Linked DNA regions of Homo sapiens: regions 2, 3 and 4 are each linked to region 1. Evidence: promoter capture Hi-C in human tissues and cell types (Jung and others, 2019). All regions are on one chromosome and are shown on one strand. Each heading gives the region's core, a stretch centred on a gene start or on the middle of the fragment in contact. The rest is flanking DNA. Distances are from core to core; before and after follow the strand shown.

Region 1 (7,315 bases), core at 4,284-6,783:
ATGAGAACCTCACAGCCATTAGGGGTGCCCTGAGTGCCATGGGCGGTGGGATTTCTCTGATGCCCCCCAGCTCTGCTCCCTGCCTGGCTCGCCCCCTATCAAGGCTAAGGATGACTCAGGGCCCAGCCATCACCATAGCAACACGCGTCGCCTAGCAATGGCGGTCTCCCGGCAACGGTTGTCTCCTAGCAATGGGATATTTTCCTGGGCCCTGGCTGGAGCCCGGCAGTTATTTTTAGCTCCACAGCAAATCAGTCGGCAGCTGCATTTTCGGCTCCTTGAAGAGAGGCAAGGTGTGGGGGGGTGGGTCTCTCGGCAAAGGGAGGAAAGCATCCCCAAGATAGGAATCTTGCTGCCGTGGGCCCGGAGGTGCAGGCCTGTGGGTGGGCGAGGCCGGATCCTGCCTGTGCAGGGGGGCAGGTGGCCGGTGGAGGGGAGCCAGGGGTTGTGCAGGCTGCCTGGATGAGTCGGCAGCTAGGACTATGTCCTTGATGGGCCCCCAAGCACCCTGAGCCTCATAGGTCGGCTGGGTAGAGGGGACGCAGGCCAGTGCTCACAGCTGCACTATCAGAGCATGTTTCTGGGTGGCCCAGGGTCTGGCAGGCTCTTGGCACCCAGTGCCCCTCAGCTGTGGGAGCCATCTTCACTGTCCCAGACCCCAGCTCCACCCAGGGAGGGGGCAGCAGGGCGGCCGCAGAGCAGCACATTTGGCCAATCCCGTGCAGGGCTCAGCTGGGGACACAGGAGGCGCTGGCTTCAGGTCAGCCCACACCTCTCTCCTCGCTCCGCTGCCAGTGAACAGAGACACAGGCGGGGGTCTTGGCCTACGATCTGGCCCTTCTCTCTAGGCTTCCTCCCCATTTCCTGGGGGATCCTGTTCACCGGTGCGTCCAAACTCCCCAACTCCCTCAGGGCAGATGGGCTGGGTGGGGCCGGCCTTACCCGCCTCCCCTTTGCAGCAGGTCAAAGGCTCTGAGGCAGATGGAGCTTCAAGCAAACAAGGAGCCCCCAGGGCTCACCCTCTGTGGTTCCTGGTTTACTCGAAGTTCTGTCTGCCTCAGGGCCTTTGCCCCTCTTCTCCCCAGGGTTGGGGCTCCCTTCCTGCCCCCCCATCAACTCCCCTCGTCCTTGATGTTGCTCCCCCAGGGCCCCAGCCAGCCAGCTCCTGCCCTGGCCGTGACAGCTGCTATTCTGTGCCCGGCACTGTGGTGTCCCCAGCGGGTTGTTCGGCACTCCGTGGCGCAGCCACCTGTCCGCAGCCGCTCCCCTGCGGGACGTGGGCTGCCTGTGCCACGCACTGCTGGGGCCCAGCTCATGGCAAATGCAGCACTGGTGTCCTCCACGGGCCGGAACCTGTGTCTGGGGGGAGAACGCAGTGGCCGAAGGTGGGAACCATGTGGCAGTGACCAGGGTCTCGACCGCCCCCACCCCAGCACCCCCTCAGGCTGCAGCTCCAAGGGCCCTCTGGGCAAGACAGGAACAGAAACCAAGTCTCAGGCTTCGGGACAAGCTGTGAGGCTGGCCGCCCTGCCTTGGGCTGAGGGGCCTTGTGATATGGCGTCTGTGTTTGGCCACGGCCAGGCTGACCCGCAGGCGGGAGAGATGATTGTCCCAGACTCTGCACTCTCCAGGGGTGGCCTCACGCGCTAGGCCCAAGGTTTCTGAAACAAAGCCTCAGGGAAGTTCTTCCTTTTGTCTGACTTGAGTATGTCTTGCTGCTGTCGCGTTCTGACTTGGGTGGAAATGGAGAGAGGCCCCTTCTGGGGTTTCAGGGCACTCAAGGGTCTGGGGCTTGGGGCACTTGAGGGGGCCCCCAAACAGCACAGACAGCCACGGCATCACCTAAGCTTGGGGATGCCTTCCAGGCACTCCTCCGCCCAGCCACCCCCCACTTAGTCTGCTGGTATTTACTGAGCACCAGCACCCTGGCAAGTCGGGTCCTGTACCCATAGCAACTGAGGACAGACTCGGCCTTCCAGGCCCCTCCTGTAGGCAGCACAGCACTCACTGATGCCAGGTGCTTTCCTGGGTGGGGCCGGGGGCTGTGAGGAAAAGGGGTGTGTGTCCAGGGCTTCTCCTGTGGGTGGCTGCATTGGCACCGGATCCCCGGAGATGAGGCTGGGGAGGAGGCAGGGACGCCCGGGGTTGAGGCGTCAACTCGGGGCCAGGCATGTGCCATTCCAGACCAGGTCACCCCAGGAACCCCTCCCTCCAACCACAGACACTGGCCCCTCTCTGGAGGAGGCCTGGGGAGAAGTCCGGGGCCCAGGCTGTCAGGAGGGTGTCTGGGGCTGACCCTCACGCCGCCACCAGAGGGCGCCTGGAGCCCACCGTGCTGACCCGGGGACCGCCAAGCGGCAGCAGCCCTGGACGGCTGGGTGGCTGCAGCGGCCGACCCGTGTGCCTCTCCCCACCTCTGCGAGCACCTCATGTGCTCAGCCCCAGGCCGAGTCTACCCTTTAACCTTTACGATTTTTATATTTTATTTATTTATTTTTTAATTTTTATTGAGACAGGGTCTCTTCTGTCGCCCTGGTTGGAGTGCAGTGGTGCAATCACAGCTCACTGCAGCCTCACCCTCCTGGGCTTAAGCAATCCTCCTGCCACAGCCTCCCAAAGTGCTAAGACTACATGCATGAGCTGCTGCACCCAGCTAATTTTTGTAGTTTTAGTGGAGTTGGGGTTTCAACATGTTGGCCAGGCTGGTCTTGAACTCCTGATGTCAAGCGATCATCCTGCCTCAGCCTCCCAAAGTGCTGAGATTACAGGCAGGAGCTGCCACACCCGGCCTTAATTTTTATGTAATTAATTAATTAATTTTTATGAGACAGACTCTCACTCTGTCACCCAGGCTGGAGTGCAGTGGCCTGATCTCAGCTCACTGCAACCTCCACCTCCCGGGTTCAAGCGGTTCTCCTGTCTCAGCCTCCCAAGTAGCTAGGACTGCAGGCGTGCGCCACCACGTCCAGCTAATTTTTGTATTTTTAGTAGAGATGGGGTTTCACCATGTTGGCCAGGCTGGTCTCGAACTCCCGACCTTGTGATCTCCCTGCCTTGGCCTCCCAAACTGCTGAAATTACAGGTGGGAGCCGCTGCGCCTTGACAATTTTTATTTTTAATTGTAAGATATACATCATAACATCTACCATTTTACCCATTTTAAAGTGTGCAGTTCCGTACTGTTGAGTACATTTGTGTTGTGTAATCAAGCTCCTGAATTCTGTCCCCATTAAGCTCCAATCCCTCATTCCCCTCCCCAGCCCCTGCTCCACTTTCTGTCCTCATGACCGTGACTACTCTAAGGTGACTCACAGAAGTGGAATCCAACAGTGTTTGTCCTTTTGTCTCTGGCTTATTTTGCTCAGCGCATAAGCCTCCAGGCTCATCCAGGCTGTAGCGGGTGTCAAGGGACCAGAACTTCATTCCTTTTTATGGCTTAATAATGGACCCACCGCCAGGGGGTGCCGTGGCTCATGCCTGTAATCCCAACACTTTGGGAGGCTGAGGTGGGCGGATCACCTGAGGTCGGGAGTTCAAGACCAGCCTGACCAGCATGGAGAAACCTCGTCTCTACTAAAAATACAAAATTAGCCGGCATGATGGCACATGCCTGTAATCCCAGCTGCTCGGGAGGCTGACGCAGGAGAATCGCTTGAACCCAGGAGGTGGAGGTTGCAGTGAGCCAAGATCGCGCCATTGCACTCCAGACTGGGCAAAGAGCGAAACTCCATCTCAAAAAAAAAAAAAAAAAAAAAAAAAAAAAAGAGGCCGGGCGCGGTGGCTCACATCTGTAATCCCAGCACTTTGGGAGGCCAAGGCGGGCAGATCACGAGGTCAGGAGATCGAGACCATCCTGGCTAACACGGTGAAACACCCTCTCTACTAAAAAAAGAAAAAATACAAAAATTTAGCCGGGTGTGGTGGCGGGCGCCTGTAGTCTCAGCTGCTCGGGAGGCTGAGGCAGGAGAATGGCATGAACCCAGGAGGCAGAGGTTGCAGTGAGCCGAGATCGAGCCACTGCACTCCAGCCTGGGCGACAGAACGAGATTCCGTCTCAAAAAAAAAAAAAAAAATGGACCCACTGCACTTGCTTGTCCACTCAGCTGCAGACAGGCCTTTGGGAGTCTTCCACCTTTTGGGGATTGTGATGGCTACTTCTGACCTGCACCTCGCCCAGAGCAAGGGGCTGGCCGAGCCCAGTAGGCGCCTTGTTCCTGTTTGGCCTGGGAGGGCCCTGGGGTTGAGGGAGGGCCTGGTCAGTGGGATCCAGCCTCCCACTGCCACTGAGCCATCTGGCCTCATCTGTCCGACTGCCACTGGTGAACTCATCTGTCCACCATGAGTTTCGAGCGCCGGGTGGCAGGAGGTTTGGGGGCAGGGGACGGAATGTTCACATCTTCAGGCTGCACAGTCTATGCTGGTCCTTGCAGTCCCCGGCTAAAGCTTCTGTCGTCCGTAAGGGGTTCAGTATGTAGTGGGACCCCTTTGCTTGTGCCTTAGGCCTTCTGTGATCTGACCTGTCGTCCCCACCCACCACCCATGCCCTGGGGTTTCACTGGGCTGCCAAGAGCTCCTTCCTCAGGCCCTTGACCCAGGCTGTCTGCTCTCCCCCATTCTCTTCCTGTCCACCTGGCCAGCCACTGCCCACTTCCTCCCATCAGGCCAACTCAGCAGTCCCGGATGCTGGGAATCCCACACTGCTCCAGCCTGAGGCTACAGTGTGTTTGCGAATCGCCTGTTTCTGCTTGTTTCATCTTGGTGGGGGCTGCTCCTGTGGCCCAGGGGTGTCCTCCCAGCTCCTGTGTCTCCACGTGCTGCAGGCCTGCAGGGGTGCCCGTGGCTGCTCCATTCACGCCCCTCCAGGAGCCCCGTCTGGCCCGGGGTCGGTCATCCGGCAACTATGGGGTGCCGCTAGGTCTGAGGAAAGGGGCCTAAGCCTGCGGGCTGCGCGCTCTTCAGCAGGACCCCCTCCTGCAGACGGCCTTACCAAAACCCGAGGCCTGGCCCCGCTCCAAGGCGCAGCCCCCAGGCCAGGCCTTCCCCGCCTCTGGAGTCATGACCCCTCTCCTCTGGGGCTCCACCGGCCTCTGGTCAGCAGGACCGGACCTGGTTGGGAGGGATGTGGCCAACAGGCCCAGGTCCCAGTGTTAGGAAGGAGCAGGCCCGGCCGCCCGCGAGGCGGAACCACCAGGTGGGCCACCTTCCCTACCGCCACCCCGAGGTTCCAGTGGACATCAAAACCTCGGCTCCATCAGAGGCTCCAGGACTCCGATCGGGACAGCGCGGGGGGCGAGGCCAGGGTGAGGGCGCGGCGAAGGAGAGACGCACAGCGCGGGGCGGGCAAGGAGCCTCCCTTCCGCGCCAAGGCCCCCCCCAACCCTCGAGGCGCTTGGACCGTGGGATAGTCCTCCGGCGGCGCCCGAGCTCCGGCCCCGCCCCCGCTCCGCCCCGCGCCTGCTATTGGCGGAAAGTTCCGGGCCGCGCCGCGACTGGCCGACACGCCGCAGGCCCCGCCCCCTTCCCGACCCGCTCCAAGGCGGCCCCGGCGCTGGGGCTGCGCGGCAGGCGGAGCGGCCGCGGGCTTGGGGGCTTCGCCGGGGCCGGGCGGCCGGCGCCCCCGGCTGCTCCCGCCGCCGCCCGGACCCGCGCCCCGCCGGGGCAGCGGTGGTGAGAGCCCCGACTCCCCGGACGCCGCCCGCCGTGCCATGGGGTTCCCGGCCGCGGCGCTGCTCTGCGCGCTGTGCTGCGGCCTCCTGGCCCCGGCTGCCCGCGCCGGCTACTCCGAGGAGCGCTGCAGCTGGAGGGGCAGGTACGGTCCGGGGGGCTGTCCCCGCACTTAGGACGGGGTGCGCTGCGGCTAGGACCCCCCAGGCGCCCCTCGGAGCGCGCAGAGCGCTGGGCCGGTTTCCCCATCCGCGAGGCGGCCTCGGGAGGGAGCGGGGGCTGCGCCGGGCGGGGACCCGCCCCCGTCTCAGCGCCCCGTCCCGTCCTGTCCCCAGCGGCCTCACCCAGGAGCCCGGCAGCGTGGGGCAGCTGGCCCTGGCCTGTGCGGAGGGCGCGGTTGAGTGGCTGTACCCGGCTGGGGCGCTGCGCCTGACCCTGGGCGGCCCCGATCCCAGAGCGCGGCCCGGCATCGCCTGTCTGCGGCCGGTGCGGCCCTTCGCGGGCGCCCAGGTCTTCGCGGAGCGCGCAGGGGGCGCCCTGGAGCTGCTGCTGGCCGAGGGCCCGGGCCCGGCAGGGGGCCGCTGCGTGCGCTGGGGTCCCCGCGAGCGCCGGGCCCTCTTCCTGCAGGCCACGCCGCACCAGGACATCAGCCGCCGCGTGGCCGCCTTCCGCTTTGAGCTGCGCGAGGACGGGCGCCCCGAGCTGCCCCCGCAGGCCCACGGTCTCGGCGTAGACGGTGAGTGGCGGTCTGGTTGGGACAGGGTGGGAGTCCCGAAGTCTTACCCTGCCTGGGCTTGGCGGGAATGTGCCTTGTCGGCCCCACTGCAGAAGGAAAAAGTGAGCTACAAGGGTTGGATGGGCTTGTCAGGCCACACAGCCTGGGACTGCTGGGGAGGGATGGCCTCCCCGCCCTCCCTTCCCGATTCATCTCTGGAAAGAGCTGGCAGGGGCAGAGTGGAGGGAAGGGGAGGCCGGGCCCAGCAATCCTGGGCCTCTGGTCCCTGAACGGTTGGGGGAAGAGATGGTGGGGACAGAATCGAAGCCTCCGGCCAAAGCTGTCCGGGGCTCCCTGGCCCAGCGGTGACCTCTCTCCCCTCCCCCAGCCCAACCAACAAAAGTCCAGTGTGCAGCCCGGTCACCATGGAGACGCCGCTCGCCTCCCTGCAGGGCACCAGGCCCAGCTCTTGCTTGGCTCTCCTGGAGCTTGGCGCCTGACCCTGAAAGGGATGGGCTCTCGCTATTCTGCCCCCTGGCCCTGGGCCAGGGACCCCAGACCACCCTTCCTCTGCCCCCACTTCCTATCACCCTAGCTGGGCTGCTGCTCTTCAGACCTCAGATCCGGGAAACTAGAGGGGTCCCAGATGCTGGGGTGCATATGTCAGATGGGAGTGCAGGAGGGCGGCCCAGGACAGCTGATCGCTAGGCATGGCCCCCAGGCCCACGTCTGTGTGCATTCCTGCCTTGGAGGTACGCGCCTGCAAGTGTGTTTCCTGAGTACAGGTGTCGCCGAGGGCGTGCACATCTGCTGTGTAGCTCTCTGGGACCCCCAGGTGCCATCAGGCCCTGAGCGTGGGCTCTGCTCATTTGCCTGCTGCCTCCTGCCGCTTGTGCGGACAAGGGACGGGGCCTGGGGTGATGCCGGGAGAGGGCA
Region 2 (7,315 bases), core at 3,298-5,797, 590 kb after region 1:
AACTCCTGACCTCAGGTGATCCACCTGCCTCAGCCTACCAAAGTGCTGGGATTACAGGCGTGAGCCACTGCGCCCGGCCCTCCAGAGCCATTTTCTTATTGATGTAGGGATTTTCTATATCCCAGATTTTTTTGTTATTTTTTTGAGACGAAGCTCATTCTGTCCCCCAGGCTGGAGTGCAGTGGTGCAATCTCAGCTCACCGCAACCTTCGCCTGCCGGGTTCAAGCGATTCTTGTGCCTCAGCCTCCCCAGGAGCTGGAGTGGTGTGCACAACCATACCCAGCTAACTTTAGTATTTTTTAGTAGAGACGGGGTTTCACCATGTTGTCCAGGCTGGTCTCGAACTTCTGACCTCAAGTGATCTGCCCACCTCAGCTTCCCAAAGTGCTGGGATTACAGGCGTGAGCCACCGCGCCCAGCCTATTATCCTGGATAATAACTCCTTCTCAGATATGTGAATTTTTTTTTCTTTTTATTTTTAAATGAAGTCTCGTTCTGTTGCCCAAGCTGGAGTGCAGTGACGCCATCTCGGCTCACTGCAACCTCTGCCTCCCGTGTTCAGGAGATTCTCCTGCCTCAGCCTTCGAAGTAGCTGGAATTACAGGCGTGCACCACCACACCCAACTAATTTTTGCATTTTTAGTAGAGACAGGGTTTCACCATGTTGGGCAGGCTGGTCTCAAACTCCTGAGCTCAAGCGATCTGCCCTACTCAGCCTCCCAAAGTCCTGGGATTACCAGCGTGAGCCACCGCGCCTGGCCCGAGGCTGACTTTTGAGCTGGTTTTTGTGCGTGCTCCGGGGTAAGGGTCCACCTTCACTCTACTGCAGAGGCCCTTATTCCTCTGGGGGAATCGGCCCTCAGTGAAGAGGCCTCTGCTCTCAAACCCCTGTGCAGAGCCTGGCCCCAGCAGGCCCCGGAGGGGGCACCCAGGGCACTGGAGGTCCCGCCCTACCGCAGGCAGCTCTGCATCACACTTCCTGCTCCCCTCCCAAGGGGACCAGGGCAAAGGTGGGCGCGTGCCTGGCACAGTCAGCCACAAGCCTTGCCCAGGATCTTATAGTTACTGATTCAAACCCCCCACCCTCTCCAAGCCTCAGTTTCTCCTTTGTACCCAGGGAGCTGGACCCAACAAGTCCCCTCTCCTTGAAAACGTGTGCCAGGTGCAGGCTGCTCAAAGGACACTTGTGGGCTGAGGATGCACAACTGAGGGAGCCTCTTCCCTCCCCCACCTGCTCCATGCCCCTCACCCCCACCTGCTCCATGACCCTCACCCCTACCTGCTCCATGTCCCTCACCCTCACCTGCCACAGCCTCCCCAAACCCCAGCCCCTCCTGGCACTACTTCCCACCAGGACAGGAATTCTCTAGATGCCTGAGCCATGTCTCCTCAGTCCCTCACCACACACACACAGGGAACCAGGGCCTTGTCTTACTTCTCCTGTTCCACAACCTTCTATGGCTCCCATGGCCCACAGGTTCAGGCCCAGGCCCTCCCCAGCCACACACCACATCCAGTCAGTCTCCCCAAGCCCCACTCATGACAAGCCCCCCACCTCACCAGCCCTGCCCTCTCTGTGCCTGAGGCTGCAGCGGGATCCACCGAGGCCCGTGGCTGTCTTGCTTTTCTTCAGCCACGGCTTTTACTGGCTGACGCCTCCCCACACAGCCCTGTGCTGGCATCTTCGCCAGAAAGATGGCGTTGGAACCTTAGCCCATGTCAGGAAGCCAAAGGGCCATATCCCTCTGCCAGGCTTGCCCAGGGGGCTGGTTAAGAATGCAGATTTCAGCTGGGCGTGGTGGTCCACACCTGTAATCCCAGCACTTTGGGAGGCCGAGGTGGGCGGATCACTTGAAGTCAGGAGTTTGAGACCAGCCTAGCCAACATGGTGAAACCCCGTCTCTATTAAAAATACAAAAATTAGCCGGGTGTGGTGGTGCACGCCTGTAATCCCAGCTACTCGGGAGGCTGAGGCAGGAGGATCGCTTGAACTCAGGAGGTGGAGGTTGCAGTAAGCCAAGATGGCGCCACTGCACTCTAGCCTGGGCAACACAGTGAGACTCCATCTCACAAAAAAAAGGAAAAAAAAAAAGCAGATTCCCAGGACCTCAAGGCTGGGGGCCAGGACAGCAGGTGTCTAGACAGGCCACGGAGGCTCTGAGCCTGGGAGTTGCAGCCAGGCCAGGCCCCCGCTGGTCTTGGTGGGACAGGGCTGTGCATGGCTTCCAGGGACTGGATTCTGGGGGAGGCTGCCCCTGCTGCCCTGGACCCACATCCCCACGGCTGCGCCTCCCAGGCAGGCAGACCCAGGGTGTGTGGCTGCCCCTCCTGCTGCAGGTGCCTGACAGGGAAATGCCCGCTGGGGACCCTGTGGGAGGTGGTGGGGGAATGAGTGAGGGAGGGAGGGAGTGAATGAGTGAAGGAGGGAATGAGTGAGTGAGGGAGGGAATTAATGCATGAGTGAGGGAGGGAATGAATGAATGAGGGAGGAAGGGAATGAGTGAGGGAGGGAATGAATGAGTGAGGGAGGGAATGAGTGAGGGAGGGAATGAATGAGGGAGGGAATGAATGAATGAGGGAGAGAGGGAGGGAATGAGGGAGGGAGGCAATGAGTGAGGGATGGAATAAATGAGTAAGGGAGGGAATGAGTGAGGGAGGGAGGGAATGAATGAATGAGGGAGGGAGTGAATGAATGAGTGAGGGAGGAAGTGAATGAGGGAGGAAGGGAATGAGTGAGGGATGGAATGAATAAGGGAGAGAATCAGTGAGGGAGGGAGGGAATGAATGAGTGAGGGAGGGAATGAGTGAGGGAGGCAGGGAATGAATGAGGGAGGGTGGGAATGAATGAGGGAGGGAATGAATGAATGAGGGAGGGAATGAATGAATGAGGGAGGGAGGGAATGAGGGAGGGAGGGAATGAATGAATGAGGGAGGGAATGAACGAATGAGGGAGGGAATGAATGAGGGAGGAATGAGTAAGTGAGGGAGGGAATGAGTTTGTGAGAGTGGGAATGAGTGAGGGAGGGAGGGAATGAATGAATGAGAGAGGAAATGAGTGAGGGAGGGAATGAGTGAGGGAAGGAATGAATGAGTGATGGAGGGAATGAATGAATCAGTGAGGGAGGGAATCAGTGAGGGAGGGAATGAGTGAGTGAGGGAGGGAGGGAATGAATGAGAGAGGGAATGAGTGAGGGAGGGAAGGAATGAATGAGGGTGGGAATGAATGAATGAGGGCGGGAATGAATGAATGAGGGCGGGAATGAGTGAGAGTGAGAATGAGTGAGTGAGGGAGGGAATGAATGAGTGAGGGAGGGAATGAGTGAGGGAGGGAATGAGTGAGTGAGGGAGGGAATGAGTGAGGGAGGGAATGAGTGAGTGAGGGAGGGAATGAGTGAGTGGGAATGAATGAGTAAGTGAGGGAGGGAATGAGTGAGTGAGGGTGGCAATGAATGAGTAAGTGAGGGAGGGAATGCGTGAGAGAGGGAAGGAATGATTGAGTGATGGAGGGATCGAATGAATGAGGGAGGGAGGGAATTAGTGAGGGAGGGAGGGAATTAGTGAGTGAGGGAGGGAATGACGGAGTAGGGGAGGGAATGAATGAATGAGTGAGGGAGGGAATGAATGAATGTGGTCACTCCCCGCGGTCCCCAAGCACCCGGACACCGTGACCTTGGCTGCGGCCCCGCCGTCGGCGAAATGCGGGCGGGGGGGCCGGGAGAGCCCGGGGGCCAGCACGGTCGCGCGTTGGCGAACGGACTGTCCCGCGCGCTCGCGGGTCTGGGGGCCTCCCGACCCGGTCCTGCTTGTTGCGTGGGCGGGAGGGGGGACCGGAAGCGCCCCTCCCCCACGGGCTCGCCCCGCCCCCGCCGCTCGCGGTCCCCCACGTCCCGCCCGCGCCCCGGCCCAGGGCCAGCCCCCGGTTTAGGGAGCATCCACACTTCTCCTCCCGTCGGTCATGCTCGCATTCGGCCTTTTGTACGGGGTCAGCTCATTGGGCGGATGAGAAGGTGTCCCCGCCTACCGCCCCGAACTGGCCAATTGCAAGGGGTTTCACAGGGCGCTGAACTCGCGGGAGCGTCACCGTCCTGCGACGCTTCAGAGGATCCTTAGGCCTCAGTGGTCTTTGACCCCCGGCCCCAGGACCTGACCCCAAGGAAACCTCCGGGACCTGTGGCTGGAGAGGTGACCGCCAGGCATCCGGGGAGCCTTTGGAGATCTCGGCTTCCTTTTTCCCCCGCTGCTTGCCGGCGTGTCCTCGGGTGGACGCGGGCAGCCCGAAGGGGAGTTTACAGACGCTCCCTCACATCGGGGACGCGGCTCCTTTAAGGGCGTAGGTGTCCAGGGCGCCGCCTGACTGGAAAGTCGCCCCCCGGCCGGGCTCCTGGGGCGGACCCGGGGCGCGGGCGCGCGGCGGCGGGGCGCGGGCAACGGGGAGCGCTCGGCGGCGCGGGAGGCGCTCGGGGCCGGGCGGCAGGAGCGGCGCGCGAGGCAGGCGTGCAGAGGGCAGCCCCGCGTTAGGCCCCGCCCCGCGCGCCCCGCCCGCGCCAGGGTCCTCGGAGCTGCTCTGGCTGCGCGCGGAGCGGGCTCCGGAGGGAAGTCCCGAGACAAAGGGAAGCGCCGCCGCCGCCGCCCCGCTCGGTCCTCCACCTGTCCGCTACGCTCGCCGGGGCTGCGGCCGCCCGAGGTGAGCGCGTGCGGGGGCCGGGCCGGGGCCGCGGGGCGGGGGTCGGGCCGAGGCCTCTACTCCTGTTGGGCCCGGGCCCCCGACTGCCCCGCGCCCCGCCCCGCCGAGCCGGGCCCCGCGCCGCGGCCGAGCTTTCCGGGGAGCCCGAGAGGCCCCGCGCTCGGCGCCGGCTCGGTCCGCGCTGCTGGCGCCGCTGGGCTGCGGCCCGAGCGGCCGGGCCGCCGCAGGCCTTCGGGGCCGGGGCTCCCCCACTTCGCCCCCGAGGTGCGCCTGGCGCGGGGCCGGGGCAGCCACCTGCAGCCGGGGCCCCGCGAGGCCGCGCCTTCCTCCTGCGCGGGGAGCGGCTTCCGGGGTCACGGTCGCCCCGCGGACGGATAGGATGGGCCGCGGGGGGAGAGTCTTGGATTGCAACATCGCTGGCTCGCGGGGGTGGGGGCCGGCGAGCGGGCTTGTTTTCGGTGCCTTAAAACCAAAACAAGTGTAAGTTTTCTTGTGCCTCTGAAGATGCTCCGCTGGCGCTTGCTGGGGCCCTGAACGTGAGCGCCTCGCTGGAGGGGGAGTTTTATTCTGTTTTGGACATCTCTTTTTATCGGTTGAATAGTAGTTGGTTCTGGTAGTTAACGTGCGTAGGAGGAATGTAAGGGAATGATTAGTTGGGCTTGTGATCGTGGCCTGTAGTCACGCTTGAATCGCAGAATGAAGTGGTTTTGTTTGTATAATTGGAAGTTACGCTTAGTTTCTCTGTTTGCAAAGTGCCTGTCTTTGGGGAGTTCGGTTTGTTTCCTTTTACAGGACCTACCCCAAGTGTTTCTTGCTCTTCAAGAAACGTTGCCTTTGGGTAGAGAACCTATGCAACGGAAGACGGGACGGATCCTCAGTTTGCCCTGATTGCTCATTCAGAGAGGTCCGTTCCCTAGGCCACTGGGTGATTGCTGGTGTGCGCTTGTATGGTGTCTCAGGGTTTGGGATCTTGCTTCAGAAACATTCTCGGGGCCTGGGGCAGATCAGGTGCGGCCAGGTAAGCGTCTCCCGACTGCAGGTGCTTGGGTCTTGCAGAAGGGAATACCTCCCCAAGCCTGGGAGAGTTTGCATTTGGGTGCAGGAGGGCCTTTAAAGGCTTCTTGTGCCAGCCTGTCGTGGCGACCACCCGTTGTGGAGATCAGTGCGGTGGAGTTGTGGGAGGTGAGTGCTTTGCTCACCCTCAGCCAGGAAGTTGCTCTGAAGTCGGTGCTGTCAACCAGCAGAGCAAGGCGGTGATCCGAGAAGCTAAAGCTCAGCCGGTTGCGGGCGCCCAGCAGGAGGACAGAAGGCAGACTTTCGGGCCGCTCCTGGAGTGCCCGGCCCTGTCCCCGTTTCTGCAGTGTCTGGGCCTTGCCTGGCTCTAATAGATGAGGGTTGTTTTTGTCTTTGCATCATAAAAGTTTCTTGCTCTGAAGCGTTTAGTAACTACTAGCCGTTCACTAAGTGCCTATCTGTGAATTTGGAAGGGCAAATTCGATTTTCAGCGGAATTTTGAACGCTTGATCTGTGTTGTGATTACATTGTAACAGATTGGCCGCTTTCTCCAGAAGGCCAGTAGGAGGGGGTGCAGGGGGAGGGGCCTGGCTTCTGTCTGGGACACGGTGGGTGTGCACCTGTGGCTCCTTGCCCTGGCGGTGCAGTGCCTGTGAGACCACCCCGTGGTGCTGAGTGCTTTGGGGCAGGGGACACAGCAGCAGCAGCCAGGTCTTGGCAGGAGGTCTCGCAGGACCACCCCTCACGACTTCTCACACCTGAGACAGCAATAGCTAGGTGCTGGGACGGGGGCCTCTAGGCGGCTCTGTCCAGTCCTCAGCAGGAGGGCTGCCTGTGGCAGGGTCCCAGGCCCGTCTGGCCTCTCTGTGGCCTGGCCTTGCCTGGCTGTGAGGATAGCCTTGCCCATGGTCCTTCAGTGTCTGGAGCACTGGCCTGAGGCTTCAGAGACTTGCCTGATGCCTGGCCTCGCTCAGACCCCGGGCACCTGGGAGGTCGTGCCTCCTTGAAATGGCCACTCGCCAGGCTGCTTTGCACCGCACCGGGCACAGGCTGCGGCCACTCAGGAAGCCCATCCTGGGGCTGGGGAAGCGAGAGCTGTGAGTCCTCAAGTCGCAGCTGGGCTGCTCCACGTGGGAGTGGAGGGTGGAGGAACGTGTGGAGTTTCGGAGTCCAGCCCAGTGCGGAGACAGCCTTGAAACCGTGGTTGGCGGGCGCTCCACTCCGCTCTGGGCTCGAACCCTGCCTGACCATAGCTGTGCCCCCCACTTTCTCCCTGTCTGGCCCCTGGCTCCCCCCCCCTCACTTAGAGGAGGGCACGGGGAAGGGCAAACGGTCCAGAGGGCGGGCGGCCTGCGGGCTCCTCTGCATCATGTGAGGAGGGCGTGGGGAAGGACATCCCGGTGGGGCCCGGTCTGGGGCTGCCTCCAGCCCGGGCTGCCTGTCTTGGACTTAGTCGTGGACCTGGAGGCCAGTGCCCGGCTGGCCCCTGTCACCCTCTCGCTGTGACGCCAGCGCCTGCTGACTGGAGGACCCAGGTTCCTTCGCCTGCTTTTTCTCAGGCTGCCCTGAGGATCTGTGTTTGGTGAAAAGGAGCCAAATTCACCTGCAGGGCAGGC
Region 3 (7,315 bases), core at 375-2,874, 580 kb before region 1:
AAAAAAAAAAAAAAAAAAAAAAATTGCAGGGTGTGGTGCACATGCCCTGTAGCCCCAGCTACTTGGGAGGCTGAGGCAGGAGAATCCCTTGAGCCCGGGAGGTGGAGGCTGCAGTGAGCCGAGATCACGCCACTCAACTCCAGCCTGGGCGACAGAGTGAGACTCCGTCTCAAAAAATAAATAAAATAAAAACAAAAACTGAACATTCATGATGATGAAAAATCAAAAGTAACCTACATGCCGTCCACAGGGGAAGGCAGCAGCCTGCAGCCAAGGGTGAGGTTGATCCCTGCTTGCAAAGGCAGACGGAGCTCCAAGGCCGACTATGGGAAAAGGGCGCCACAGAACAATTCGTGCGATGAAAAACCTCACGCGACGTTCCCTTTTCCTGTGGATAGATCTGCATCTATGCACAGGGCAGACAACTCCCAACACGGCCAGGGGTGATCCCTGTGCTTGCTAGAACTGGGGGTGGCAAAGACAACTTCAGATGTTCACGTAACTTTTTTTTTTTTTTTTGAGACGGAGTCTTGCTCTGTTGCCCAGGCTGGAATCCAGTGGCGCGATCTCGGTTCACTGAAACCTCCGCCTCCCGGGTTCAAGCAATTCTCCTGCCTCAGCCTCCCAAGTAGCTAGGATTATGGGCACGCACCACCACGCTCGGCTAATTTGTTTTTTTTTATTTTTATTTTTTCAGTAGAGACAGAGTTTCAACCATGTTGGCCAGGCTGGTCTCGAACTCCTGACCTCAGGTGATCCACCCGCCTCGGCCTCCCAAAGTGCTGGGATTACCGCCACCGGCCTTGTTCGTGTAATTTTGTATTTTCTCATGATGAATACATCCCAAACTCATTTTATTTTATTTTACTTTATTTTTTAAAGGCTGGAGACTGATGAAATGTCAGCAGTAGTTGCTTTGGTGTGGTGAACAATGCATGATTTTAATTTTTTTTTTCCTTTTTCTACTTTTCAAATACTCTACAACGAGCAGATCTCGAATGCCCAGCAAAAGCTAAGCTCCGCGAGGCGGCCCTGGAATGAGGCGACCCCGGAATGAGGCGGCCCCCGCGAGCGCCAGGCCCCCGCCCAGCGCTCACTTACTTGTCTGGGACGCCGGGTGCTCCTGGCTTCTCTGGAAGGGGTACCTGAACAGCAGCTTATTGCCCCTGCTCCCCGAGCTCACCAGAATCACGCTGATGGGGCTGGTGTTGTCCCGCATCCCGCCGTGGGGCCGGGGCCGGGGGCGGAGGGGGCCAGAGGAGGACGGAGCCGGAGGCGGAGGGGGCCTGAGGAGGACGGAGCCGGAGGCGGAGGGGGCCTGAGGAGGACGAGGCGGGGACGCAGGGGGCCTGAGGAGGGCAGGGGTGGAGGCGGAGGGGGCCTGAGGAGGGCAGGGGTGGAGGCGGAGGGGGCCTGAGGAGGGCAGGGGTGGAGGCGGAGGGGGCCTGAGGAGGGCAGGGGTGGAGGCGGAGGGGGCCTGAGTAGGGCAGGGGTGGAGGCGGAGGGGGCCTGAGGAGGGCAGGGGTGGAGGCGGAGGGGGCCTGAGGAGGACAGGGGTGGTGGTGGACGCGGAGCAGCGCCACAGTTACCAACCCACGTGCCACGCTCCGGGCTCGCGAGACTTCGGCGACACCGTCCGGAGGAGGTGCTAAGGCGGCGGCCGGGAGAACGGCGCAGGCGCAGGCGCAGGCGCAGGCAGCGGAATGCGCAGGCGCGGGGCCTTCTGGAAGCCACCGAGTTCCGCGGTGCTGTCTGGAGCCGTACGGTTCGCGTTTGGGGCACAGGGGCCCCTCTTGCTGGTGCGGATGGGAAAGGCGCGGGGTCGAGTCAGCGTCCCTCTCGATGTTGGTTTCTTCGTTTTACAAATAACACTTGGGCGGGGCGCGGTGGCTCACGCCTGTAATCCCAGCATTTTGGGAGGCCGAGGCGGGCGGATCACGAGGTCAGGAGATCGAGACCATCCTAGCTAACATAGTGAAACCCCATCTCTACTAAAAATTAGAAGAAATTATCCGGGCGTGGTGGCAGGCGCCCGTAATCCTAGAGGAGAATCGCTTGAACCCGGGAGGCGGAGGTTGCATTGAGCCAAGATCACGCCATTGCACTCCACCCTGGGCGACAGAGCGACGAGACCCCGTATCAAAAAAAAAAAAAAGAAAGAAAGAAAGAAAAAAGAAAAAAAAAAGGCCGGGCGCGGTGGCTCACGCCTGTAATCCCAGCACTTTGGGAGGCCGAGGCGGGTGAATCACGAGGTCAGGAGTTCGAGACCATCCTGGCCAACATGGTGAAACCCCGTCTCTACAAAAAAAAAAAAAAAAATTAGCCGGGCGTGGTGGCGGGCGCCTGTAATCCCAGCTACTCGGGAGGCTGAGACAGGAAAATCGCTTGAACCCGGGAGGCGGAGCTTGCGGTGAGCCGAGATTGCGCCACTGCACTACAGCCTAGGCGACAGAGCGAGACTCCGTCTCAAAAAAAAAAAAAAAAAAAAAAAACACTTGGAAGCCGACAGGAGATCTTTGAGACCTTGGGCGAGGCAGTGACACTAAAGGCAGGAGCGACTACAGAAGAATAAATTAAACTTCATCAGATTAAAAACTTTACTGCGGCCGGGCGCGGTGGCTCACGCCTGAAATCCCAGCACTTTGGGAGGCCGAGGTGGGCAGATCATGAGATCAGGAGATCTAGACCATCCTGGCCAACATGGTAAAACCCCGTCTCTCTACTAAAAATACAAAAATTAGCTGGGTTTGGCGGCGCCTGCTTCTAATCCCAGCTACTCGGGAGGCTGAGGCAGGAGAATCGCTTGAAGCCGGGAGGCGGAGGTTGCAGTGAGCCGAGATCGTGCCACTGAACTCTGGCCTGGCGACAGAGCGAGACTCCATCTCAAAACAAAACAAAAACTTCGGTGCTTTAAAGGACACCATCAAGAAAATTAAAAGTCCACCCACAGAACGGGAGAAAATATTTGTAAGTTACATATCTGATAAGGGAATTGTATCTAGAATGGAGGAAACTTACAACTCAACAATAAAAAGACAATTGAAAAATGCACAAAGGATATGAATATTTTTCCAGTGCATTATGCAAATGGCCAATAAGCACCAGAAGATGCTCAGCTCAACTGGTAGAGGCTTACGCCTGTGACCCCAGCGCTGAGAGGCCAGGAACTCCAGACCAGCCTGGGCAAAACAGAAATTAAAAATGCTCAACATTATTAGGCATTAGGGAGATGCAAATCAAAACTACAAATAGATGCCACATCACACCTCCTACGATGGCTGTAATCAAAAAGACAAGCGTCAGCAGGGGTGTGGAGAAACGGGAATCTCTCTCCTGCTGGTGGGAATGTAAGAGGCTACACTCGCTATGGAAAACAGGCTGGCAGTTCCTGAAAGGTTAGAGTTAACACAACACTCGGCAAATCCCCCTTTTAGATATATAGCCAAGAGAAATGAAAGCATATGTCCACACAAAAACATGTGTGTTCTTAGTAATATTATTCATAATAGCCCAAAGTGGAAGCAATCCTAGGGTATATCAATTGATGAATGGGTGAATATGGTATAGTTTGTTTAAGGGAATACTATTCAGCCATAAAAAGGAATGAAGTACGGCACATGAATCCATCTTGAAGACACACTAATATATGATTCCATTTATATAAGATGCCCAGAATAGGCAAATCCATAGAGACAGAATGATTAGTGGCTGCCTAGGGCTTCCAGGGGGTCAGGGGAAATATGGAGCGATTCATGGGTTTTTTGAAGGGGAGTGATGAAAATGTTCTAACGTTGACTGTGGTAATGGTTGGACAGCTCTGAGAACGCGAATACACTAAAAGACATGGAAGTGCCGGGCGCAGTGGCTCATGCCTGTAATCCCAGCGCTTTGGGAGGCCAAGGCAGGCGGATCGCGAGGTCAGGAGATCGAGACCATCCTGGCTAAGACAGTGAAACCCCGTGTCTACTAAAAATACAAAAAATTAGCTGGACATGGTGCGGGCGCCTGTAGTCCCAGATACTCAGGAGGCTGAGGCAGGAGAATGGTGTGAACCCGGGAGGCGGAGCTTGCAGTGAGCCAAGATCGCACCATTGCACTCCAGCCTGGGCGACAGAGCGAGACTCCATCTCAAAAACAAAAAAAAGATATGGAAGTGTACACTTGAAGTGGATAAGCTTTATGGTATGCAAATTGGTATGGTATGGTAAATTATATCTCAATGAAGTTGTTTTTTAAAAAATCACCCCACCTACCCTATCCCAGGCTTCCCCAGGAGGTAACTAAAGGTAATGAGCTTCTTTGGCTGCTTCCAGAACTTTCCCAAGCACATCAAATGCATCAGAACCTAACCACTTGACTGAGGGATGAGCATTTTCACTGTTGCAAGTAACCCTCTTGCACCAACACTGACACTAATGTGTATTTTGCAGAACAAATTTGTGGATTGGCCTCACCAGGGTGAAGGGTACGTGCATTTGAAATGGCTCAACAGTACCAACAGGTGCGTTTTCTTGCACAGGGCTGCATAACATTTTTTTTTTTTTTTTGAGACAGAGTCTCGCTCTATCACCCAGGCTGGAGGGCAGTGGCACAATCTCAGTTCACTGCAAGCTCCACCTACCAGGTTCACATCATTCTCCTGCCTCAGCCTCCCAAGTAGCTGGGACTACAGGTGCCCGCCACCACACCAGGCTAATTTTTTTTTTTTTTTTGAGATGGAGTCTTGCTCTGTCGCCCAGGCTGGAGTGCAGTGGCACGATCTCAGCTCACTGCAAGCTCCACCTCCCAGGTTCACACCATTCTCCTGCCTCAGCCTCCCCAGTAGCTGAGACTACAGGCGCCCGCCACCACGTCCGGCTAATTTTTTTGTATTTTTAGTAGAGACGGGGTTTCACCGCGTTAGCCAGGATGGTCTCGATCTCCTGACCTCTTGATCCACCCGCCTCGGCCTCTCAAAGTGCTGGGATTACAGGCGTGAGCCACCGTGCCCGGCCTGCATAACATTTTTTTTTTTCCTGAAATTCCCAGAAAGGAAAATGGTGTCTTGTTCTATGTTGCATTTCTTTGATTGAGAGGGAGAGCTGCATCACTTAATTATTTGCAGAGAATTGCTTTTCTTGTTTTCTTTACAGGTGGTCTGTTCTTGGATGGTCTGGCTGTGTTCTTTCTGAGGAATACATAACCTCTGCTACACATTTTGCAAGGCTTTATCCCCGTTGTCCATGTTTTGATTTTATGTATAATCAAAAGGTTTGTGAGTTCTCCCGCACTTCCCAGGAGTGCCTCTGGGATGGAAATGAGACTGCAGGAGCAGGGCTTGAGGCTGGAGGGGTGAGATGGGACAGATGGGGGTGGGGGAACCCAGGGCAGTGGCCGGTGGTGGTAATGGAGGCCTCCTCACAGGGACCCTCACAGCGACCATGCGAATGGAGCAGGACTGTGACTCAGGTCTCGCTCTTCTGACCTAATCGTGCTGCTGCCCCAATGGGCAGAACCTTGGGGCTCCAGACTGGACATCTCTGGGCTCAAAGGATCCCACTGTTCCCCCGGTTACCCTCTCAGGGTTGGCCTCCTGCCAGTAACCCTGGCACTCATTGTTCATTCTTCTGACTATCGTCAGTCATAATGAGAGCTCGAACTGGTGAAAGTGCAGGGAGCTCACCATGACCCCAGCCCACAGAGGTCCTGGGTGCGTCCCTGCCCTCGAAGCAGCACTCTGGATCCCAGCGCCACCCTCATGTCCATGTTTGCACCTCATTGGCTGTGACAGAAATGAGACATCATTGTCACACGCTGGCCTGAGGGTCAGTGGGCCTTGCTTTGGACCTCAGTTTCCCCACCAGTAACAGGGTTCAGAGCAGATGGTCCCTGAGTGAGTCCCAGCTCTAAGTTCTCCCAGGGTCTCCTGGACAATGAAGCACCAGGGCCAACCTCCATTTGCTACAGGGGACATCCTCAGGCTCTTCTCTGCTAAGACCCCACACCTCCAAGTCTCCTCATTTTACCTTTAAATAGCTGTTTCATGACCTGCTTTTTTGACGGTAAGTAGATTTTTGGAAACTGAAACCCCTGACCCTTCCTCCCAGCCTGGGCCTGCCCTTGGCAGGATAGGAGGCCTTATCGGTCCTGCCACTTGGTCTGGGCCTCAAAGGGCCACCGCCATCTGCAGGAGGGCCGGGTGGGGTTCACAGACGCTATCTGGGACTTGCCTGGACACCTCCACCTTCTCAGCTGAGTGTTGCTGCCCCACCAGGGAGAACCACTCACACACAGTAGTAATAGAAATAATTTAAAATTCATGCTGCAAGTTCCTGAGCGCCCTCCCAACACTGAGGTGGGGGCTAGTCTAATCCCCATCCTAGAGGTGAAAACAGTGAAACTAGGACTCACAAGGCAAATTAGCCTGTTCAGGGTCACCGAGGGTCCACTCTCATGGGAGAGTTTGCAGATGCCCAATCCGGCATTCTGCTGAGTGTCCAGTGGCTTGTAAGTGGCCAGACACCCTTTGAGCTCAGCCTCAGCTGCTCAGGCACAGAACGTGCCTGGAGCTTGGAATTCAGGCCAGAAACCACCAGTGGACACCAGCATTCCACACTCACTGCACAGGCTGGGGCTCAAACCAAGGCCCAGGGACAGGAAGGGACAAGCCCCAGCCCCAGCCGGACTCCCAGCCCACACAAACCATCAGGGCTTGTTTCCTGCTCCATGGAAGCCTCAGACATGTTTCATAACCTCCTGGAGCCTCCGTTTCCTTATCTTTCCAATGTAATGATGCCCATGTGCAGTGGCTCACGCCTGTAATCCCAAGCACTTTAGGAGGCCGAGGTGGGTGGATCACTGGAGCTCAGGAGTTTGAGGCCAGCCTGGGCAACATGGCAAAACGCCATCTCTACTAAAAACACAAATATTACCCAGGCATAGTGGCACATGCCTATAGTCCCAGCTACTCAGGAGGCTGAGGTGGGAGGATCACCTGAGCTTGGGAAGTTGAGCCTGCAGTGAGCCAAGATTGTCACACTGCACTCTAGCCTGGAGGACAGAGTAAGAAGACCCTGTAACAAAACAAAACATAACAAAACAAACAAACAAAAAACCCAACTAATGACAATAAAATAAACCCTCCCTCACAGGGTGGTTGTGAGGATAAAGCACCCAGAATGAAGAGTGTTGCTGCCATGTGCAGAACTTAGAAAGTGCTCAACAGATGCCAGCCAAACAGACATGGACTCCCCTCAACACAGTCAACCCAAGGTTGACTGTCACCAAACGCAAAAGACCACACTGTAAAGCTTTTAGAAATGTGGTCTAGTGGCCG
Region 4 (7,315 bases), core at 2,605-5,104, 540 kb after region 1:
ACAATGCACCCACAGTAATGCAAAATGTTCATAACAGGAAACTCTGTGTGTGGGGATGTGTGTGTGGGGGGATACGATCTGTACTATCTGCCCAGTTGTCTGTAAACTTAAAACTGCTCTAAAAAATAAAGTGCATTAATTCCAAAACACCACAACTTCACGTGCAATTTCAACTTGCAACAGCCTGCTTTTAGTCTCCCCGGATCCTTCTGTTACTGTAGCACACGCCGCACCCTTGTGTATTCCATAAACCACACGATACCTGCACTCGCTTTGCTGTTGTTGCTTCAAACTGCCAATTCTCTTTCAAATATTTTTTGAGAGAGAAAACTGTCTTACACAGTCACAGCTGTTTCCATTTCCAGAGCTTATCTTCCCTTAGTCTAGGTCTAGATGTTCATCTCTTATCATCTTCTTCCTGCAGAACTTCCTTTCACATTTCTTTTTTTTTTTTTTTTTGAGACGGAGTCTCCTTCATTGCCCAGGCTGGAGTGCAGTGGCGCCATCTCGGATCACTGCAAGCTCCGCCTCCCGGGTTCACGCCATTCTCCTGCCTCAGCCTCCCGAGTAGCTGGGACTACAGGTGCCCGCCACCACGCCCGGCTAATTTTTTGTATTTTTAGTAGAGACAGGGTTTCACTGTGTTAGCCAGGGGGGTCTCGAACTCCTGACCTCAGGTGATCCACCCGCCTTGGCCTCCCGAAGTGCTGGGATTACAGGCGTGAGCCACCGCGCCCAGCTAATTTTTGTATTTTTAGTAGAGATGGGGTTTCATCACGTTGGCCAGGCTGGTCTTGAACTCCTGACCTCAGGTGATCCAGCCGCCTCGGCCTCCCAAAGTGCTAGGATTACAGGCGTGAACCACCACGCCCGAACATGATTGATTTTTTTTATTGGGAGGTCATCCTTTTTCATGCCTGCTTTTTTTTTTTTTTTTAAGACACGGTATTGCTCTGTCACCAGACTGGAGTGCAGTGGCACGATCTCGGCTCACTGCATCCTCTGACTCCCTGGTTCAAGCGATTCTCCTGCCTCAGCCTCCCGAGTAGCTGGGATTACAGGCACGTGCCACCACGCCCGGCTAATTTTTATATTTTTAGTAGAGACGGGGTTTCACCATGTGGGCCAGGCTGGTCTCGTTCTCCTGACCTCACGATCTGCCACCTCGGCCTCCCAAAGTGCTGGGATGACAGGCGTGAGCCACCGTGCCCGGCCACCCGCTCGTTCTTGACTAGCCCCCGGATCTCGTGAGTACTCTCTGGAGTGTTTTGTTGCGTGCTGGGTTGTGTTCTATTCCTTGACATCGTTTTGAGATGTGTTCTCACAGGCAGTTAAGTCACTTGCAATCATTTGGATCCGTCTGCGCTTTGCTTTTCAGCTTTGTGAGGGTGGGTCCGGAGAAGCCTTTGGTTTCGGGATTACTTTCTCCCCTCGTACCCTTCCATACCCTTCCGAGGACTCTCCAGTGCCTGCCTCTGACAAGGTTTCTCCACTCAGCTGCTGGGAACACGCGATATCCCCAGCCCCGCGCGCACTCCCGGACTCCGCCCCTCTCATCTGGTGGTTCTCGTTTCCGACGCGGCTCCCACGTCTCTCTGCATCTCCGGCACTCGGCCGAGGACGCCGGGGGGAACCCCCTGCGGATGCCCGGAGCTCTCCGTGCAGTTCTCCGCCTCGTGAGTCATGGCTGCCGGGGCCTCTGCACGCGCCAGGTGCGTCTCCCCAGCCCAGCAAGCTCCTGGGGCTGAGTTTCCCATCGCTGCCCTGAGTCTGGGCGCGGCCACTGTCGTCTCACCCGACTCCCCACCCTTCTCTCGGGGACACTGCCCCACGTGGCCTCTTGCCCAGTGTCTGTCAATGGCCTGGGACCCCAGCCCTGCAGCAGCCCCAGGGGAGCGGCCGGGGATCGGGGCGGGGTGCCCAGGACGCGCCCTGATTGGCCCAGTGTTAGCCAATCAAGGCTCTCGCATCCCCATGGTGCTGATTGGTCCGCCTCCCAGGCCTGACCCAATCGGAGCATTCCTAGGAGGAGCGGCCCCAGAGCCCCTGACTCGGGGGTCCCAGAGCCCTCTGCACACCACAGCCCCGGTGTCCCCGTGTGTCCCTGGGTTCTCCCAGCCCTGGTGTCCCCTGAGTCTCTTCTTCACCGTCAGCCCTGGTGTCTCCCGTGTCCCTGCCACACCCTCATCCCTGGTGTCCCCCGTCACCCCATCCCCTCACCTCCTGGGCTCCTGAAGGTCCCATCTTGTGGGCCTCATTCATGGAACCAGGACGGGGCAGGTGGAGGCCTCTGGGGAGTTTGTCCAGAGAATGGAGGAGAAGCAGGGTCATGAGCAGGAGCGGTCTGGGCCACCCCTGCCTGTCCCCCGGGGGGTGCAGCCCGGAAGGAGTCCAGATGGATATGGCCCCGCAGTGCAGAGTCAGCCTCAAACCAGGCTGGTCCCAGGCAGGGTGGGGGCAGGAGGAGCCCCGGAGTGGCCCTGTGTTGGGGGTCGGGGGGCAGGCAGGGGGTCCTGGGGCTCAGAAGCAGAGGAGGTGGGCTGGAGGCCCCAGTGACCAACAGGCCCAGGTGAGTCAGGAGGTGGGGTGGACGGAGCTGCAGGGACAGTGTCAGCGCTGAATGGGATGGAGAGCACAGGGAGCTGGGGCCGGGGGTGAGACCAAGGGGAGCTGGGCTGGGGCTGGGGGTGAGTCCATGGGGAGCTGGGGCCGGGGGCTGGGACTAGTCCATGGGGAGCTGGGCTGGGGCTGGGGGTGAGACCATGGGGAGCTGGGCTGGGGCTGGGACTAGTCCATGGGGAGCTGGGCTGGGGCTGGGACTAGTTCATGGGGAGCTGGGCTGGGGCTGGGGGTGAGTCCATGGGGAGCTGGGCTGGGGCTGGGGGTGAGTCCATGGGGAGCTGGACTGGGGCTGTGGGTGAGTCCATGGGGAGCTGGGGCTGGGGCTGGGACTACTCCATGGGGAGCTGGGGCTGGGGCTGGGACTAGTCCATGGGGAGCTGGGCTGGGGCTGTGGGTGAGTCCATGGGGAGCTGGGCTGGGGCTGGGGGTGAGTCCATGGGGAGCTGGGCTGGGTCTCCTGGGGTTGCACCTGCACTCCTGTCTGCCCTTCCCTCTGCGGATGAAGCTCAGATCCCATGATAAGAAGGCACCTGCAGACCAGGGGACCTGCACGGACAGCCCCAGAGGTGGACATTGAGGAATCGTTGGAGGACTTGGGTCTCATACGGGAGGTGGGGAGCAGGGCCCCTTCCTGGCTGAGGACACTTGGTGCTGTCCCCTCTCAAGGCTGTTTCCCCATCTGACAAAGGGGTCTCATGTGAGCCCCCAACCAAGTGAGTCGAGGAGGGCTGGCCCCACCCCCGTGGATTCGGAGTCCGTAGGAGGGGTGTCACCCGTCATGTCCCCACCCCGTGGGCACCTTCCCGTCTCTTGGAGGGTGGCCCATGGACATGAGTTCCTCACCCCGTGTCCCTCTTGGGGAAACAGGTTTCAGGAGCGACGGGTCTTGTAGCCTGGGGCAGCCAGGCCACCTGGGTGCAGCTATGCCTGAAGGCCTCCTGGCACCGAGACAGGGGCAGGAGCAGATCCCACCAGCGGGAAGGTGGTGGGTTCCAGTGCTGGGATCCACCAGCTGACAGGTGGAGCTGCGAGCCTCCAGTGCTCAGCCCTCGGCGGGGCCTGCCTGGCAGCCCCACACACAGAGGGCATCGGGGTGGCGGGGGCATGTGTTACACGGGGGCCCTGGGTCTGAGTCATCCACTTCCTCCGAGTCTGGATGGGAGGACCCAGCGCCCCTCCTCCGCCCCCTCCTGATCTGGAAGCATAAATGGGGAGGGGAGAGCCCGCTGGGTAGAAGGAACAGGGAGTGGCCAGGGTAAGTCCCTACTCTCAGAGACCCTGACATCAGCGTCACCTGGAGCAGAGTGGCCCAGCCTCAGACTCAGAGCACCAAGACCCAGGCCCGCAGGCCTGGACCCACCCCGGTCCCCCCGTCCCAGCTCCATTCTTCACCCCACAATCTGTAGCCCCCAGCCCTGCCCTGTGAGGCCCGGCCAGGCCCACGATGCTCCTCCTTGCTCCCCAGATGCTGAGCCTGCTGCTGCTGGCGCTGCCCGTCCTGGCGAGCCCGGCCTACGTGGCCCCTGGTGAGTCCCAGCCGGGGTCCACCCTGCCCCTCACCACATTCCACAGATCAGGGCCTGGGTGGGTTCTGGGGAGGCCGGGCTGGCCCCCACACAGGGAAGGGCTGGTCCCAGGCGTGGGGCGGCTTCTTGGTCCTGACCTGGCACCTGCCCCAGCCCCAGGCCAGGCCCTGCAGCAAACGGGCATTGTTGGGGGGCAGGAGGCCCCCAGGAGCAAGTGGCCCTGGCAGGTGAGCCTGAGAGTCCGCGGCCCATACTGGATGCACTTCTGCGGGGGCTCCCTCATCCACCCCCAGTGGGTGCTAACCGCGGCGCACTGCGTGGAACCGTGAGTCTCCTGGGGCCTGGAGGGGTGGGCAAGGGCTGGATGTGAGCCCTGGCTCCCGGGTGCTCCTGGGGGCTGCCCAGGGCCCTGAGTGGGATCCTCCGCTGCCCAGGGACATCAAGGATCTGGCCGCCCTCAGGGTGCAACTGCGGGAGCAGCACCTCTACTACCAGGACCAGCTGCTGCCGGTCAGCAGGATCATCGTGCACCCACAGTTCTACATCATCCAGACCGGGGCGGACATCGCCCTGCTGGAGCTGGAGGAGCCCGTGAACATCTCCAGCCACATCCACACGGTCACGCTGCCCCCTGCCTCGGAGACCTTCCCCCCGGGGATGCCGTGCTGGGTCACTGGCTGGGGCGACGTGGACAATAATGGTGGGTGTTGGGGACAGCGGGAGGCCGGGCCAGGTGGGCACCAAGTCACAGCCACAGGCCAGTCCGTGGGGTGACAGGGTCCCTCAGGGCGGCTCAGGGAGGGGGACTGTGGAGGCCAGGATGGATGGAGCAGGCGGTGGCGAGAGGCAGCAGGTGCCCTGAGCAGAGACGGTGAGTCCAAAGGGCCTGGGCGTCCCCCACCCCAGGGGTTTGGAGAGTCCCTTAGCACCTCCGTGCCTCGGTTTCCCCTTGCCTGAAAGGGTGCATCAAAAGTTTGTACGTCACGGACTTGCTATGTGGAGAGAGAAATCACACGGGGGTCTTGCTGGAAGGAGAGAGACCGGTGCTGGGATGAGACCTGCCTGCCCTCCATCCCTGTGCTACAGACAAGGCAGGGGCCTGGGAATCGGGGTCGTGGCAGTGCTGTGGGGGGCTGGACGAAGCTCACTGTGGCCCTCCACGAGGCACATTTTCACTTCTAGAAGGTCTTGTCCCCATTTTATCCACAATTCAGAGCAAAGCTTTGGGGTACAGCCTGAGCGGCAACCCTGGGCTGTGACCTCTGGGTCACTCAGAAGGGGCCTGAGCCACTGTCCCGCTATTCCGCCCCACACAGCGGGGAAGCTGAGCCCAGCGCCCTGTGTTCCCCTCGGCTAGGGCCAACCGTGGACCATGGGCCTAGCCCAGACGAAAGTCAGCTGAGCCCAGGGGGAGACACGGGTCGGGCTCTGCACCCCCGTGCCATGGAGCCCAGCTTGGCAACCTCCAGGGCCCTCCCCTCCCTTCCCCAGATGGGGCTTAAATGAGGCCAGGGACCCAGGACCAGCCTCAGCGGAGGGGCCTGGACTGCATTCACCGCCCCTTCCCCGGGGCTGCAGGCACAGAACAGCACTGGGCCCATGGTGCCATCTCCCCTGCCCGTGACTCTGCCACCAAGTCCACGAAGCAGCACCCAGCCGGCCCCAGACCCGGCTCCACGCCCCCCTCCGCCCCCAGTGCACCTGCCGCCGCCATACCCGCTGAAGGAGGTGGAAGTCCCCGTAGTGGAAAACCACCTTTGCAACGCGGAATATCACACCGGCCTCCATACGGGCCACAGCTTTCAAATCGTCCGCGATGACATGCTGTGTGCGGGGAGCGAAAATCACGACTCCTGCCAGGTGGGCCCTCGCGTCCCCCACCCCAATCCCCGGAGCCTGGCCAGCGAGCGCATCCCTCATCCTGACCCCCGAAGCCTGGCCAGCGAGCACTGACCTCTGACCTTCCCAGGGTGACTCTGGAGGGCCCCTGGTCTGCAAGGTGAATGGCACCTAACTGCAGGCGGGCGTGGTCAGCTGGGAGGAGAGCTGTGCCCAGCCCAACCGGCCTGGCATCTACACCCGTGTCACCTACTACTTGGACTGGATCCACCACTATGTCCCCAAGAAGCCCTGAGCCAGGCCTGGGGTGTCCACCCGGGTCACTGGAGGGCCAGCCCCTCCTGTCCAAACCACCACTGCTTCCTACCCAGGTGGTGACTGCCCCCCACACCTTCCCCCATCCTGAGTCCCCTCTCCCATCCTGAGCCCTGTCCCCTGTCCTGAGCCCCCTCCCCTTTCTTGATCCCCTCCCCCATCCTGAGCCCCTCCCCCACCCTGAGCCCCTTCCCCTTTCTTGAGCCCCCTCCCCCACCCTGAGCCCCCTCCCCTTTCTTGAGTCCCTCCTCCATCCTGAGCCCCCTCCCCTTTCTTGAGTCCCTCCTCCATCCTGAGCCCCCTCCCCTTTCTTGAGCCCCTCCTCCATCCTGAGCCCCCTCCTCCATCCTGCCCCCTCCTCCATCCTGAGCCTCCTCCCCAACCCTGAATCCGCCCCTCCCGGCCCCTCCGGCCCTCCCCTGCCCAGGCAGCTGGTGGTGGACGCCCATCCTCTCTAGTGCTGACTCTCATTAAAGTGCATGATGGAAAGCAGGTGTGGCCGTCACTGTGTTTCTGGTCGTGGGTGTCACGGGGGAGGAAGGGTCTAGGCATGTCTCGGGGCAGCTGCAGGAGCTGCGGGGTCCTGGACCCCGAGGCACAACTAGTCACTGTGGGGTGGGGCCTCCTCAGCTGCCCTGGTCGGCGAGTGGGGGCACAGGTGGCTCCCGGTTTGGAGGAGGAGCAATTAATTTCGGTCTCCTCCCGGCAGCGGGAGGTGATTTCTCCGTCAAACACGGAAGCCTGCCGTGGCCGCACTGAGGGTGTGAGTGCTCGGCTTCCCGTCTGGGTCTTGGTGTCCTGTGAGTCGCACAGATCAGGGGCTGCAAGGGAGGGACTCTGAACGCTGCCAGGGCAGAGCAGGGTCCAGCGGGGTCCGGCTGGGCGGGGACGTGGCTCGGAGGACTTGGGAATGGCACTGATCACTGCCCGCTGCCTGTCTTAGAAAGCCCAGGGAGCCAGGGCAGTGTGGGAGACCCAGGAGCCCCCTGGGAGGTGGCGGGGTGCAGCTGGAC

Evidence for each region. The method cuts DNA at HindIII sites, captures the fragments that hold promoters and counts their contacts. A contact is called where the count stands out against the background at its distance.
Region 2: a contact is called between the fragment with the promoter of UBE2I here and the fragment with the promoter of METRN in region 1, in 4 of the 25 tissues and cell types used here (dorsolateral prefrontal cortex, lymphoblastoid cells, mesenchymal stem cells and 1 more).
Region 3: a contact is called between the fragment with the promoter of NPRL3 here and the fragment with the promoter of METRN in region 1, in 1 of the 25 tissues and cell types used here (lymphoblastoid cells).
Region 4: the fragment with the promoter of TPSD1 here is called in contact with the fragment with the promoter of METRN in region 1 in 2 of the 25 tissues and cell types used here (lymphoblastoid cells and mesendoderm cells).

Annotation. Positions count from the first base shown.
Region 1 is chr16:709,585-716,899 of GRCh38, forward strand. METRN (meteorin, glial cell differentiation regulator) reads left to right here and starts at 5,534. Exons shown (of 4, transcript NM_024042.4): 1 at 5,534-5,809; 2 at 6,000-6,400. The coding sequence starts at 5,706. RefSeq lists silencers at 2,276-2,405, 5,293-5,602, 5,703-6,132, 6,233-6,292 and enhancers at 4,550-5,148, 5,747-6,344, 6,345-6,942, 6,943-7,315. The HindIII fragment of the contact is 3,141 bases long and covers 3,146-6,286 here.
Region 2 is chr16:1,305,089-1,312,403 of GRCh38, forward strand. It overlaps UBE2I (ubiquitin conjugating enzyme E2 I), which reads left to right and starts at 4,548. Exons shown (of 7, transcript NM_003345.5): 1 at 4,548-4,685. RefSeq lists silencers at 3,617-3,906, 4,397-4,696, 4,897-5,086 and enhancers at 4,117-4,356, 5,058-5,669, 7,102-7,151. The HindIII fragment of the contact is 23,762 bases long and covers 1-7,315 here.
Region 3 is chr16:137,049-144,363 of GRCh38, forward strand. NPRL3 (NPR3 like, GATOR1 complex subunit) reads right to left here and starts at 1,625. Exons shown (of 14, transcript NM_001077350.3): 1 at 1,594-1,625; 2 at 1,102-1,286. The coding sequence starts at 1,219. RefSeq lists a silencer at 1,055-1,284, an enhancer at 1,505-1,554 and a cis regulatory region at 5,907-6,425. The HindIII fragment of the contact is 17,392 bases long and covers 1-5,732 here.
Region 4 is chr16:1,252,215-1,259,529 of GRCh38, forward strand. TPSD1 (tryptase delta 1) reads left to right here and starts at 3,855. Exons shown (of 5, transcript NM_012217.3): 1 at 3,855-4,148; 2 at 4,302-4,473; 3 at 4,583-4,848; 4 at 5,845-6,008; 5 at 6,118-6,794. The coding sequence starts at 4,067. The coding sequence ends at 6,162. The HindIII fragment of the contact is 12,300 bases long and covers 1-7,315 here.